Regions from separate parts of the Homo sapiens genome. Here all the other regions are linked to region 3. The links are contacts of gene promoters, found by promoter capture Hi-C in blood cells and fetal thymus (Javierre and others, 2016). All regions are on one chromosome and are shown on one strand. The core of a region is centred on a gene start or on the middle of the fragment in contact, and the rest is flanking DNA. Distances in the headings are between cores, read along the strand shown. Region 1 has its middle 24 kb from the start of ANP32E. Region 2 has its middle 30 kb from the start of LINC02988. Region 3 holds the start of H2BC21 (H2B clustered histone 21).

The links. The method cuts DNA at HindIII sites, captures the fragments that hold promoters and counts their contacts. A CHiCAGO score of 5 or more calls a contact.
Region 1: a contact is called between a fragment that was not itself captured here and the fragment with the promoter of H2BC21 in region 3, in 16 of 17 cell types (fetal thymus, endothelial precursors, erythroblasts and 13 more). The highest score is 11.4, in fetal thymus.
Region 2: a contact is called between a fragment that was not itself captured here and the fragment with the promoter of H2BC21 in region 3, in 17 of 17 cell types (erythroblasts, megakaryocytes, fetal thymus and 14 more). The highest score is 16.0, in erythroblasts.

The regions. Positions count from the first base shown.
Region 1 is chr1:150,209,350-150,213,986 of GRCh38, reverse strand. It overlaps the pseudogene RN7SL480P. Among named protein-coding and RNA genes, the nearest start is that of ANP32E, 24 kb to the left of the region's middle. The HindIII fragment of the contact is 5,688 bases long and covers 514-4,637 here.
Region 2 is chr1:150,188,052-150,192,969 of GRCh38, reverse strand. No RefSeq gene overlaps it. Among named protein-coding and RNA genes, the nearest start is that of LINC02988, 30 kb to the right of the region's middle. The HindIII fragment of the contact is 5,180 bases long and covers 1-4,902 here.
Region 3 is chr1:149,883,959-149,888,703 of GRCh38, reverse strand. It overlaps H2BC21 (H2B clustered histone 21), which reads left to right and starts at 2,022. Exons shown (of 1, transcript NM_003528.3): 1 at 2,022-4,245. The coding sequence starts at 2,064. The coding sequence ends at 2,444. H2AC20 (H2A clustered histone 20) reads right to left here and starts at 1,786. Exons shown (of 1, transcript NM_003517.3): 1 at 1,293-1,786. The coding sequence starts at 1,729. The coding sequence ends at 1,340. H2AC21 (H2A clustered histone 21) reads left to right here and starts at 739. Exons shown (of 1, transcript NM_175065.3): 1 at 739-1,235. The coding sequence starts at 788. The coding sequence ends at 1,180. RefSeq lists enhancers at 669-958, 979-1,118, 1,529-1,588, 1,719-1,788, 2,109-2,398 and 6 more. The HindIII fragment of the contact is 10,069 bases long and covers 1,820-4,745 here.

The sequences.
Region 1 (4,637 bases), core at 2,108-4,607, 320 kb before region 3:
TTGGGGAGACAGCAATGTTATTTTAGTTGATGAAGGAAAAAAATAAAAAGTGCTGATCACTTTAGAGTGTGTCCCTAATGTAATTCCTGGAACACAGGGAAAAACTTCTGCCAAGGCAAATTTTTAGATTCGAGAGCAGAGTCGAAAAGCCAGAAGCAAAAGAGGAGGTCAAGACTCGGAAAGGACCCGGGCAACCCGAATTGCTCTACAGGGCGCTCTACGAAACCGTCTCGGATTGGGCCAGAAATGCCGCAACCCCAGTCACGTGGTCCCGCACCGCCCTTCCCCTCTAGATAAACTAGGGCTGGCGCGCACCCGCCAAAACGGTCAGAGACCTGCGCATGCGCGGGGGCGCAGGCGGCCTGCTGAAAGCGTTTTGGATCCTACTTCCGCTTTGCTTCCTCTGGGCAGGTCCAGGTTACTTGGACTGAAACTCGTGGGTCAGATTCTTAGGACCTTCCTTTTCTTTACTGTCTTCCATTTTGCAATCCTTACTTAACGATTAACAAAGCTTTTGTTTTCTTAATTTTTTTTTTTTAATACACATGGAGTCTTGTCCTGTTGCCCAGGTTGGTCTCGAATTCTTGGGCTCAAGCGATCCTCCTGCCTCGGCCTCCCAAAATGCTGGGGTTCGAGGCGTGAGCCACCGTGCCTGGCCTTATTTTCTTTCTAATTTTATTTCAAACATTGCATTATTCTAAACCCCACGTTGACGAATGTCATCCACCTGCTCAGCAGCTATAAATGGTGGAGTTAGGTATGTTTTCAATCTCTCTAAGGTGGAAATGAGGGCTGATCATGAGTGTGGTTTATCAAGTGCTGCGTTTGCAGCTGAGGCCACTTTCGCTTCTGTCACTTGTTTGTGCACAGTCTGGTTCAAGTTTGCACTTAGGTGACCTTTGCTTAAGTGAATTTCTCTTCTTGTCCCCAGGGGCTAACCTACTATTCCACGTTGTTCCTACTCCTATTTTTCTTCTATTTTATTTTATTATTTATTTATTTATTTATTTTTTTGAGACAGAGTCTTGCTCTGTCGCCCAGGCTGGAGCACAGTGGCACGATCTCGGCTCACTGCAAGCTCTGCCTCCCAGGTTCACGCCATTCTCCTGCCTCGAGTAGCTGGGACTATAGGCGCCCGCCACCACGCCTGGCTAATATTTTGTATGTTAAGTGGAGATAGGATTTCACCGTGTTAGCCAGGATGGTCTCGATCTCCTGACCTCGTGATCTGCCCTCCTCGGCCTCCCAAAGTGCTGGGATTACAGGCGTGAGCCACCGCGCCCGGCCTTTTCTTCTATTTTAAAGCCAGAATTGCTGAATTGAACGGTCAAGTTGGTACCTAAGAACGAATCAATTCTGGAAAATATTGGAGCAACCAGCTACCCAGAGGGAAACCGTTGAAAAATGACATGTAGCCCACATGTAAAGTGATTAAGAGCTTTAAGGTATAAGATGTAGGATCCTTTTCCTCTCTCTCCGAAGGAAAGAATGGGTCCATTGAGGGACATTTTGTAGAGGTCACTGTGTGAGATTATTAACATTTTTCTTCTTTTAATTAGGACAACTAAATTATAGTTTGTTAGAAGTGTCTTAAACTATTGAAGAAAAACTGTCATCAAATTATACTTTTTTTGTGTGTGTGACAGAGTCTCGCTCTGTTGCCAGGCTGGAGTGCAGTAGCACGATTTCGGCTCATTGCAACCTCCGCCTCCTGAGTTCAAGCGATTCTCCTGCCTCAGCCTCCAGAGTAGCTGGGACTACAGGCGCGCGCCAACACATGGTGAAACCCCATCTCTATTAAACATACAAAAATTATACGTTTTATTGGCATCAGTCACTTTTCAGAGAATATTTGCTTCACTTTTTCTTGTGCAACCAAAAGATGTCTTTGATCCTATGGAAGGAGAAGAGAATAATTAAATTTGAAATCTTGTATACACAATTTTTATTAAAATGTCAAAGGACAGTTACATGTTTCTATAGAATTAGCATATGTATATATATACGCTCTATCTATCTATCTATCTATCTATCTATCTATCTATCTATCTATCTATCTAGAGAGACAGGGTCTGTTACCCAGGGTGGAGTGCAGTGGCTATTCACAAGCACGATCCTGCTACTGATCCGCACGGGAGTTTTGACCTGCTCTATTTCTGACCTTGGCCAGTTTACCCCTCCCCTTAGGCAACCTCGTGGTCCCCTGTTCCTGGGAGGTCACCATATTGGTGCCGAACTTAGTGCGGACACGCGATCGGTATAGCACACTACAGCCCAGAACTCCTGGGCTCAAGCCGTCTCCTGCCTCAGCCTCCCAAGTAGCTGGGACTACAGGCACGGGACACCGCGCCTGGCAAAGTTAACAAATATTTAACTGCAGTAAAACTAATGTCAGTAGTTTCTCAGGCATTTTCATTGGCTTTTACAAAGTCACAAAATTGGGTAAAATGAGGGCCATTTACTTTATTTAAAAAAAAGAGGCCGAGCGCTGTGGCTCACGCCTGTAATCCCAACACTTTGGGACGCCGAGGCAGGTGGATCACAAGGTCAGGAGTTGGAGAGCAGCCTGGCCAATATGGTGAAACCTCGTCTCTACTAAAAAATACAAAAATTAGCCGGGCATGGTGGCACGTGCCTGTAATCCCAGCTACTCAGGAGGCTGAGGCAGGAGAATCGCTTGAACCTGGGAGGTGGAGCTTGCAGTGAGCCAAGATCGCGCCACTGCACTCTGGCCTGGGCAACAGAGTGAGACTCTGTCTCAAAAAAAGAAAAAAAAAAAAAAAAGAGATGAGAATATTCTTGGATTTTAAGAAGCCAAGATTTTCTAGTGGGTAATAGCATTTCTCAGAAAAGACTTTTTCTTTTAACAGACTAAATATTTAGGAAAACTTTTTTTCTTATATTGAGGGATTGTATTTTCAGCATTGTTTCGATGTTGCCGCAATATTTTAAAAAATACTTATTAGCAGGTGGAGATGATGTGAATTTGTTGTTTACAACCCGTAGGATATTGAAGAGCTACCTGCTGAGAGAGGAGCTGCTACCATCTGGTCTCTGCTATGAGGCCAAAGCACTACATTGGTCCCATGATAAACCTACTTTTCTTTTTGTGTCATTTATTTTCCTTTCCACTGCTATTCTATATCAGCCTTGAGGTTGCTATTGGAGTTGAGGGACAAATAAGAGGTCATATAATGTAGGCCATCGCATAATGATGAAACATCAATTCTGTGGTCTGTCTCTAAGGCTCTGTCCTTGATAATAAAATACAGTGTGCTGTAATGGTTATCAAGTTTCCACTCCATATTATTAGGTTATTAGCTATTAATTAGATATCACTTGCCATTTTTACTTTACATGACTGTAAATAACTGCTGTCTTTCAGATCTTCATGTACTCAATCTTTACAAGCGGTTTGCAATTAACATATTAAGAAAAAAACCATGGAGAATTATGTGCAAATCCTTTTCAAGGCAAGCAGTCTTACAGCTATGATCAAAGGCATAAAATGTAGAATATTTAACAAACTTTTAAAATCCTTTGTTTAAGGAACATAAGTGATAGGAAAACAAATATGAATGATACCAACTCTATCCCTTGAAAAACAGCCTAAACCCAAGATTATAAACCAAGAGCGAAATTGCAGGCAGAGAAATGGCTGAGCTGACAGCTTGTGCCCAGAAAGCTCAGAAGATGCCAAAACTTTGATTTGCTCACTTCAGTGAAGGCGTGATCCTTCATTTTGCAGGGCTATAGAAGGAGATGTATTTGAGTTTGTAAATACAAAATCGATCAATATGTGAGGGACAGACTTGTGCCGTGAAAATTCACCAAAGTCAGATTTCTAAATCAAGTTGTCAATTTATTAATTTACAGGGAGAATGTATATTTACATTGTTTATGGTATTATTGTTCAGTGTTCTAAATTGGCGCTCTTTAATAGACATATAATTCTGTCAAAAATGCAAGTTGGTGGAGTGCGGTGGCTCTCACCTATAATCCCAGCACTTTGGGAGGCCAAGGCGGGTGGATCACCTGAGGTCAGGAGTTGGAGACCAGCCTGGCCAACATGGTGAAACCCTGTCTCTACTAAAAACACAAAAATTAGCCAGGCATGGTGGTGGGTGTCTGTAATCCCAGTTACTCGGGAGGCTGAGGTAGGAGAATTGTTTGTGCCTGGGAGGCAGAGGCTGCAGTAAGCCAAGATCGAGCCACTCTACTCCAGCCTGGGTGACAGAATGAGACTCTGTCTCAAGAAATAAATAAATAAATAAAATAAAAATGCAAGTCACAGATGTATTTAGAATTTTCTAGTAGACATATTTAAAAAACTAAAAAGAAACAGGTAAAATTAATTTTAATGTATTTTAATTAACCCAACATATTCAAAATATTATACTTTCTACATGTAATCAATGTAAAAAATCATTAGTAAGATGTTTTGTATTTTTTTCATGCAAAGTCTTCCAAATCTGGGATGGATTTTATGCTTACAGCAAATCTCAATTCAGATAGCCACTTTTCTTTCTTTCTTTTTTTTTTTAACAGAGTTTTATTTTTATTTAGTTACTTTCTTCTTCTTTTTTTTCTTTTTATAAAGATAGGATCTCACCATGTTGCCCAGGCTGGTCTCAAAC
Region 2 (4,918 bases), core at 1,063-3,562, 300 kb before region 3:
CTTAAAAGTTGCAATTAGGATTCCTTAAGAGGGTCGGGTGTGGTGGCTCATGCTTGTAATCCCAGCACTTTGGGAGGCAGAGGTGGGCGGATCCCTTGAAGTCAGGAGTTCGAGACCAGCCTGGCTAACATGGTGAAACCCCGCCTCTACTAAAAATACAAAAATTAGCTGGTGTGGTGGCGCACGCCTGTAGTCCTAGCTACTCGGGGGGCTGAGGCAGGAGAATCGCTTGAACCCGGGAGGAGGAGGTTGCAGTGAGCCGAGATTGCGCCGCTACACTCCAGCCTGGGCAACGAAGTGAGGCTCCATCTCGGGAAAAAAAAAGAAAAAGGATTCTTGAAGAGTGTCCAAATAATACCTTGCAGGAAAATGAAGAGTGTATGGATGCTGCAATCAAGAGGAATTCTGGGAACTGCGAGATGAGAATGAGGCCTAACAGGTGCCATGCAGCGAGCTTTCGCAGTGGCAGCTTCCACTGTTAAAATGATAGTGGAACAAGATGAGACTAAATTGTCAGTGATTTCTCTCTATATTATGGGGATAGACCTGTTTTCTTCATTTATCAAGCTCTGCTCTCTCCTACAGACATACCTTGCTTTTTAACAACTGCCGAAAAGGTCAGCTTTCTGCTAAAGGGTCACATCAAAATAGCATTGTTAACGTTACCATTTTTGTCTTCTGAATCAGATTCTATTTTCTGAATCAAATTTCAGCCTGTTTGACAGCCAGTGTGGTTGGGCTGCTGGACTTTATCTCTTGAGATTTGATAGGTAGCTGCTTAGAATTTTCCACATATTTAAATGCATGTGTCATGTCTACTAAATGTGTCTGGTATTGCTAGAGTGGTGCTCCTTATTGTGTGTATATTTGCCCTGGATTTTAATTCTGGAATACATTATTCACTTAAAGGTAAATAGCAAGTATATTTGAGCAAAAACATTTTTATTAGCAACCATAAAAAGGGTGCATACAGTTTTATAGCCAACATGATAATATGAGATGTAATTGGACAGGCACGGTGGCTCACGCTTGTAATCCCAGCACTTTGGGAGGCCGAGGCGGGTGGATCACGAGGTCAGGAGATCGAGACCATCCTGGCTAACATGGTGAAACCCTGTCTCTACTAAAAAAAAAAAAACAAAAAACAAGACAAAAATTAAGCCGGCGTGGTGGTGGGTGCCTGTAGTCCCAGCTACTTGGGAGGCTGAGGCAGGAGAATGGCGTGAACCCAGGAGGCGGAGCTTGCAGTGAGCCGAGATCGCCCCACTGCACTCCAGCCTGGGCGACAGGGCAAGACTCCATCTAAAAAAAAAAATACATATATATATGAGATGTAATTATTTAAATGCCACAATTCTGACTGAACGGGATAGTCAAAGTACTAAAAGACTAATAAAATGCTCCTGTATTAGTTTCATATTGTTGCTATAACAAATTACCACAAATGAAGCCACTTAACACAAATTAATTTTCTTACAGTTTTAGAGGTTAGATGATGGAAATGGATCTTACGGTGCTAAAATCAAGGTGTCCACAGGGCTGTGTTCCTTCTGCGGGCTCTAGGGGAGAATCTGTTCTTTGGCTTTTCCAGCTTCTAGATGCTGCCCGAATTCCTTGGCTCATGGCCCCGCTTCATCTCAAAGCTAACTATTGCACCACGCTGACCTCCACTTCCAGCATCTCTGGCTCTGACTTTCCCGTTTCCCTCTTTTACTTATAAGGACTCTTGTGATTACGCTGGGCCCAGGATAATCTCCCCGCCTCAAAATCCTTAACTTCATCACACCTGCAAAATCCCTTTTGTCCTGTAAGGTAACATATTCACTCTGAGGATTAGGACATGGACTTAGGGTGAGGAGGGATTATTCTGCCTGCCACAGTTCCTTAATATAAAAACCTAAGGAATTTTCCTTCACCTAAGGGATTTAAAGTGCTAAGAAATTAGCAATGAATATATAAACAAATTTCTACCATAATTTGTTTTTTAGAAAAACTTCTGGATGTTTTAAATAATTGCATATTCCAGAATAGCTTGACTTTTTTATATAACTGAAAAAAGATCCTTTTAATATCTGGTGACATATACCTCTCCTCTCTCTGTGATCAGAATGATATATTTCCAGATTTTGTGTTTTGCTTTAGCTTTTTACTTCCAAGTCATATGACTTTTCTAGGTTATAGTTTCAAATATATATATTCTAAATCATTTGGTTGCCCTTTAAAGATGAAAGCATAAGAACTATTTGCACTTTGCTTTATTGTATGATTAGAAGACTTTCTAATTGCATTAATCAGAATGGGGCCAGGTGCGGTGGCTCACACCTGTAATCCCAGCACTTTGGGAGGCCGAGGCTGGTGGATGGCTTGAGCCCAGGAGTTCAAGACCAGCCTGGGCAACATGGTAAAACCTGTCTCTACCAAATCCATCCCACCCTGTGCCCCCTCCAAAATTAGCAGGGTGAGTTGGCACGTGCCTGTAGTCTCAGGTACTCTGGAGGCTGAGACAGGAGGATTGCTTGAGCTCAGGAGGCAGAGGTTGCAGTGAGCTGAGATCATGTTGCTGTACTCCAGCCTGGTGACAAAGCACGACCCTGTTTCAAAAGAAAAAAAAAGAGAGAGAGAGAGAAAGAGAATAGGATGAACCCAGTAAAAACAGAGTCAGTAATGCCACAGCCTCTGAAGAAGAGATCGGGCAGTGATCACAAACCGCTCTGGGTAGCTGTATTAGTCAGGGTTCTCTAAAGGGACAGAACTAATGGGAGAATAAAGGGGAGTTTATTAACTCACATGATCACAAGGTCCCACAATAGGCCATCTGCAGGCTGAGGAGTAAGGAGAGCCAGTCCGAGTTCCAAAACTGAAGAACTTGGAGTCTGATGTTCGAGGGCAGGAAGCAGCCAGCACGGGAGGAAGATGTAGGTTGGGAGGCTAGGCCAGTCTCTCTTTTCACATTTTTCTGCCTGCTTATATTCTAGCTGCACTGGCAGCTGATTAGGGTGCCAGATTAAGGGTGGATCTGCCGTTCCCGGCCCACTGACTCAAATGTTAATCTCTTTTTGCAACACCCTCACGGACACACCCAGGATCAATACTTTGCGTCCTTCAATCCAATCAAGTTGACACTCAGTATTAACCGTTACAGTAGCTAAAACAGATTTCCATTCCAACGGTCTGCTAATAAGAGCTTGACGATTGTAGAGCTCTATGACTTTCAATTTCACTAAATGATAAAAAAAACTAGGTCTGAAAATGTTAATAAAGAATGAAATATTTTTAATTATACAAATGTATTTAGGCCGGGCATGCTGGCTAATGTCTGTAATACCAGCACTTTGGGAGGCCAAGGAGGGCAAATCACTTGAGCTCTGGAGTTCAAGACCAGCCTGGGCAATATGGTGAAACCCCGTCTCTACTAAAATTACAAAAATTAGCCAGGCGTGGTGGTGCGTGCCTGTAGTCCCTGTTACTCTGGAGGCTGAGGCACGAGAATCACTTGAGCCCGGGAGGCAGGGAGGTTGCAGTGAGCAGAGGTTGCACCACTGCACTCTAGCCTGGGCGACAGAGCGAGACTCTGTCTCAAAAAAAAAAATTATTATTTTTTGAGACAGAAAAAAATTATTATTTTTTTGATACAGGTTGCTCACTGCAACCTCCGCCTCCCAGACTCAAATGATTCTCGTGCCTCAGCCTCCCCAGAAACTGGGATTACAGGCATGCACCACCAAGCCTGGCTAATTTTTTGTATTTTTAATAGAGACGGGGTTTCACCATGTTGCCCAGGCTGGTCGCAAACTCCTGGCCTCAAGTAATCCACCTGTCTCAGTCTCCCAAACTGCTGGGATTACAGGCATGAACCACTGCTCCCGGCCCGATTATTCTTATTTTTTGTTTAGTTCTTCAGTGAAATCAACTAAGTCAGTGAGAAATTTGATGAGGGGAGGAAGTTAGTGACAGTCCAAACTCCTTTTTTATTTTTTAAATATCAAGTTCTCAGTAATTTGCAAGTGTTAAAATTCATAGAACTAGCCAGGCACGGTGGCTCACACCTGTAATCCCAGCACTTTGGAAGGCTGAGGCAGGCGGATCACGAGGTCAAGAGATCATGACCATCCTGGCCAACATGGTGAAACCCCGTCTCTATTAAAAACACAAAAATTAGCCGGGTGTGGTGGCGGACGTCTGTAATCCCAGCTACTTGGGAGGCTGAGGCAGGAGAATTGCTTGAACCCGGGAGACGGAGGTTGCAGTGAGCTGAGATCGTGCCACTGCACTCCAGCCTGGGAGACAGAGTGAGACTCCGTCTGGAAAAAAAAAATCACAGAACCAAGGTTTATAAGCATAATGCACTTGTATGAAGAATAATCATTCATAGCAGATTGGAATAAACCCTCCTAAATATCTTTCTAAAAGCCAGATTTGAAACTTATTTTGATATTTGATAAGAATTTTCATATTAGGCTGACAATCAATACAGGTTCCTGGTTGGCTGGCATTATTAATGCTGAGCCTTAACGCTTTGCTAGAGCCCCTCTCCTTTTTTTTTTTTTGAGACAGAGTCTTGCTCTGTTGCCCAGGCTGGAGTGCAGTGGGGCAATCTTGGCTCACTGCAGCCTCCCTGCCCCCTAGGCTCAAGGGATTCTCATGCCTTAGCCTCCAGAATAGCTGGGACTACAAGCACCTGCCACTGAACCCGGCTAATTTTGTATTTTTAGTAGAGATGGGGTTTTGCCATGTTGCCAAGGCTGGTCTTGAACTCCTGCCCACCTCAGCCTCCCAAAGTGCCGGGATTACAGGCACGAGCCACCACATCTGGCCAGAGCCCTTTTTTTGAGTACAAATGCTCAGACCTCCCTTCTTCCTTTTCCCTACCACATTCTCTGCATTTGGCTAGAAGGGCAAGCTTTGTTTGTGATGCACT
Region 3 (4,745 bases), core at 773-3,272:
GAGATGGGCAGTGGCATGGGGGAGCAGGATAAGAAAAGTCGGCGAGGTAAGAAGAAAAACAGGGCGACATTTTGAAAGCCAAGGGAGCAAGTTTGAAGGCCGCCTCCTGGAGGTCAAGAGGAGGATGACAAATCTATTCTAGCCTCGGTCAAACCGGATTCCGAGGAGTGCAGGCGGGTGGGGGTGGGGCGGAGACACGCCGCTGCGGGCGACTTAAGTTTAGGGGCGAGAAAGGAGGCAGCCTTAGTAGTACATGTATTTTTAAAGGGAATTTGGCTGTGACGAGACAGAAAGGGCGGGACTTGGCAGTTTAGAGCTCAAGGGGATCATCGGCTTCAGAATCCCCTACTCTTTCGTGAGAGTAACTCTCCGTCTAAGGATGTCTTCTGCAGTTCCTTAGGGTCCATATTGGGATTTCCCGGCTGTAAACTAAACAAAGCAAAGCAAAACAAAACAAAAACCCACAGTGCCTCTCAGTAAAACAAAACCAGTATTTTGTTTGAAAGCCTGCTCTCTTTAAAGATCCTGGCATGCAAATAAGGGGCTTTAATGTGGCTCTCAGCGATTGGTAGATACTTACAAAATCCGTCATTTCCTTTCAGTGCAGGACGCAAACCAAGAGGCGGCTTTCTGCTTTTCTATTGGCTGTTAGATACGGCTCCGCTTTTAGCCAATCAAACGACTTCCCTTCACCCCTCCCGGTAGCTCTTATAAATTACATCAAATTGGTTATTCTTTCCACATTCTTCTCCTTGTAAAAGAAGCTGTAACTGCAATTTTAGCCGTAATGTCAGGACGCGGAAAGCAGGGAGGCAAGGCCCGCGCTAAGGCCAAGTCGCGCTCGTCCCGCGCTGGTCTCCAGTTCCCGGTGGGGCGAGTGCACCGCTTGCTGCGCAAAGGCAACTACGCGGAGCGGGTCGGGGCAGGCGCCCCGGTGTACCTGGCGGCGGTCCTCGAGTACCTGACCGCGGAAATTCTGGAGCTGGCGGGCAACGCGGCTCGGGACAACAAGAAGACGCGCATCATCCCTCGCCATCTGCAACTAGCCGTGAGGAATGACGAAGAGCTCAACAAGTTACTCGGGGGTGTCACCATTGCCCAGGGCGGCGTCTTGCCCAATATCCAGGCTGTCCTGTTGCCCAAGAAAACGGAGAGTCACAAGCCTGGCAAGAACAAGTAATTAAGAGGCTTGACACCATACTCATTCACCCCAAAGGCTCTTTTAAGAGCCACCAAAGTGTCAAATGAAGGGCTGATCACGAAATAGCGCATTAGCTCTTTTTTTGAAAACTTGGGTGGCTCTAAAAAGAGCCTTTGGTCTTGGTTTGTTTGTCTGCATTTATTTGCTTTTGGCTTTGTGGCTTTCGGTTTTCTTTGGTAACAGAACGGCCTGGATGTTAGGCAAAACGCCGCCCTGGGCGATGGTGACTTTGCCCAGCAGCTTGTTCAGTTCCTCGTCGTTGCGGATGGCCAGCTGGAGGTGACGAGGGATGATGCGCGTCTTCTTGTTGTCCCGAGCCGCGTTGCCCGCCAGCTCCAGGATCTCGGCGGTCAGGTACTCGAGGACCGCCGCCATGTAGACGGGCGCGCCGGCCCCCACCCGCTCCGCGTAGTTGCCTTTGCGCAGCAAGCGGTGCACTCGCCCTACCGGGAACTGGAGGCCAGCGCGGGACGAGCGCGACTTGGCCTTGGCGCGGGCCTTGCCTCCTTGTTTGCCACGACCAGACATGACTGAAATCAAGGTTAAACACAGACAACGCTCAGAACCTCGCAACAAAATAAGATTGAAAGAGAACCAAGAGGAAAGCCTTTATAAGCTTTCCTAGGGGTGGGGTCAAGAACGAGTTTTTCATTGGTCCTAATATGGCTTCAGAACCGGCCAATCAAGTCAAGAGTCGGTGTTGTTACGTACGCATTGCTGAAAACGCAAGGTCCGCACACGGACCAATGGAAATGAACGACTTTCGGAGCCCTAATTTGCATAAGGTGGTTATAAAAGAATCAGGCCCGCCCATTCTCTTACTTCTTTTCTTGGCTAAGCCGCGTTTGTACTGTGTCTTACCATGCCTGAACCGGCAAAATCCGCTCCGGCCCCTAAAAAGGGCTCCAAGAAAGCCGTCACCAAAGCCCAGAAGAAAGACGGCAAGAAGCGCAAGCGCAGCCGCAAAGAGAGCTACTCCATCTACGTGTACAAGGTGCTGAAGCAGGTCCACCCCGACACCGGCATCTCGTCCAAGGCCATGGGCATCATGAACTCCTTCGTCAACGACATCTTCGAGCGCATCGCGGGAGAGGCTTCCCGCCTGGCGCACTACAACAAGCGCTCCACCATCACATCCCGCGAGATCCAGACGGCCGTGCGCCTGCTGCTGCCCGGCGAGCTGGCCAAGCACGCCGTGTCCGAGGGCACCAAGGCGGTCACCAAGTACACCAGCTCCAAGTGAGTCCCTGCCGGGACCTGGCGCTCGCTCGCTCGAGTCGCCGGCTGCTTGACTCCAAAGGCTCTTTTCAGAGCCACCCACCTAATCACTAGAAAAGAGCTTGTTCACTTATTCCCTTAGTTTCTTTTCATAAAGTAAGTTATTTTAGTGTGAAGGTCATGGGAAATGGCATACGTAGCTTTTTAACTATTTGGAACTCGAGGTCCCCAGTGCGTCATTGGATTTGCTTTTGAATCTAGAGCGTGTCTTTACTCATTGTGCTGCTTAGCCTTCCCAGGAGTCGGTTCTCAATTAGGCTGTTGGGAATCCGCCTCTTTACCCGCCCCCACTCCCGCCCCACACGCGCCCTGGTGGCTCCTTGGGTCTGTTTCATTCTAAAACGAAGTGGCTGAGTTCGGCTGTCATTTAAGAGAACTCCAGGACACAATTCAGCCCGGGTTCCGCAAACACTGCGTGACAGCTCTGTATGACTGACGCTTGGCAGCAGCTTTTGTGTCCGGTCACCAGTTCTGCCGTGCGATGGGGCCTCCTGTGGATACCAGCCGTTCTGTGTATTTTGGACGAAGGCCGCGCAGCCGGGTCCCAGCCTTGTCCTGATTGGGCGACAAGAATATTCAAAATTCTGCGCCTTTTTCTAATTTGTAGATTTCAGTTTCCGTCGTTCACTTTGAGACTTTGAAATTCCTATTTCTCATTTTGTTGATAATTTCTGCATTTAATGGTCTGTGCTTTAAATGGTAACGCTACGGCCCCAGGTCACTGCGAGGCACTTACCATGTAGATACGGGCTCAAAAGTCACCTCTCAGAGACCTACGTCATCCACTCAGGAATTCGCGCCTCTCATACTTGCCTGTCTCATTTTATCTTCCTTCTAGCAGCTGTCTGAAATTGGTTCGTCTGTTTTCTTGTTTATGGTATTCTCAAGCCCTTGACAGACCGGCTAGTGTGGTTTTCCCGTGCATCTTCAGCCTGGCACATTATGGACACTTAAATACTACGTATTGATCTAATATTGTTGGGTTAATTTTTCCATCCCACCCTTTTCTTAATCGCTTCCGTGGATGGATGAAGGGTGCTGTTCATTTCCATTAGATGTATGTGAAGGCACAGTGAAAATGGAAATGTTCTTGGAGCTACTTCCTCAAAATGTATCCTTAGTCACCTCAGTGCAACAGCTGGGAGGGGGCCGTGTTAAGATTTTTTTTGCTACAAAGAGGAGGTGGCAATGGTAGATCCACCCTTATGCTTCTCAGTTTAGCATAACCTCTTATGGATTTTCATCAAATTCAGCGTGTTGGTCACTGGAAAGAGCCTTTTCCTTCTCCTTTTCTTACTCTCCCCTCATGGTGTTCCCCTCTTAAAGGAGAGGAGCTTTTAATTTACACTTACCACCTCATTTGCTTTTCTGGAGGCCATGCAATATAGGCGGGACTACAGAGTTAATCTCCTTTTTACAAATGAGGCCAAGAGAAGCCTCATTGGTTCACAGTCATGCAGCTCATACTGTCCACCCTTGTATTCTCAGATGCAGGACAATTGCATTTTAGTTTTATTTTGTGGAGGTGCAGAATATTTACTCTTTCTGTCCAACCCTTGATTCTGCCGAGGAAGACACTGATGGTTTGATGAGTGATTCAGCTGTTTTTGGCTAAGGGCTTTTGGAGCTGATGGCAGGGGTTTGATGAATCCAAATGAGCTCTAGACATTATCACAGACTGAATAGATCTTAACTGTCTCCTACATGTGTGTTTTCAAATGTGTATAGATGCTATTGTTATTAATAAAGTTACCAATTAATTTAAAGGCTTTGCTGGATTCTTTTATCTACAGTGTATTTTCTCAATGAATGAAATTAACAGATACAACTTCCACTGTGTCTGTAGAAAAGCGTGGGTGCCTCTGATCTGGGGGATGACTATTTATAAGCCACCAGCCAAACTGCTGCCCCAAAGGTGCACTGGGGCTGAAATAGTCTGTTACAAGGCCACTGTTAATGCTTAGTAATTGAAAAATATATGATCACAAATAGACAGCAGTACAAATAAGATGGAAGAAATAAAGTTCATAATAAAGTTAAGCTAACACCTACGGAGCACTTACTACGTGCCAGGTAGTGTCCTAGGCCCTTTATATGTATTGACTCATCTAATTCTCACTGGGACCTCAGGAAGTAGTACCGTTATTATCACCCATTTTACAGATAAGGAAACTGAGGCAAAGAGAAGCCTTTCTTCAGAAACTCTCCAGAGAATAAGCTCCTAGGTTAGCAGTTAAGGGACTTGAGAAACAGGGTCATTCTGAAA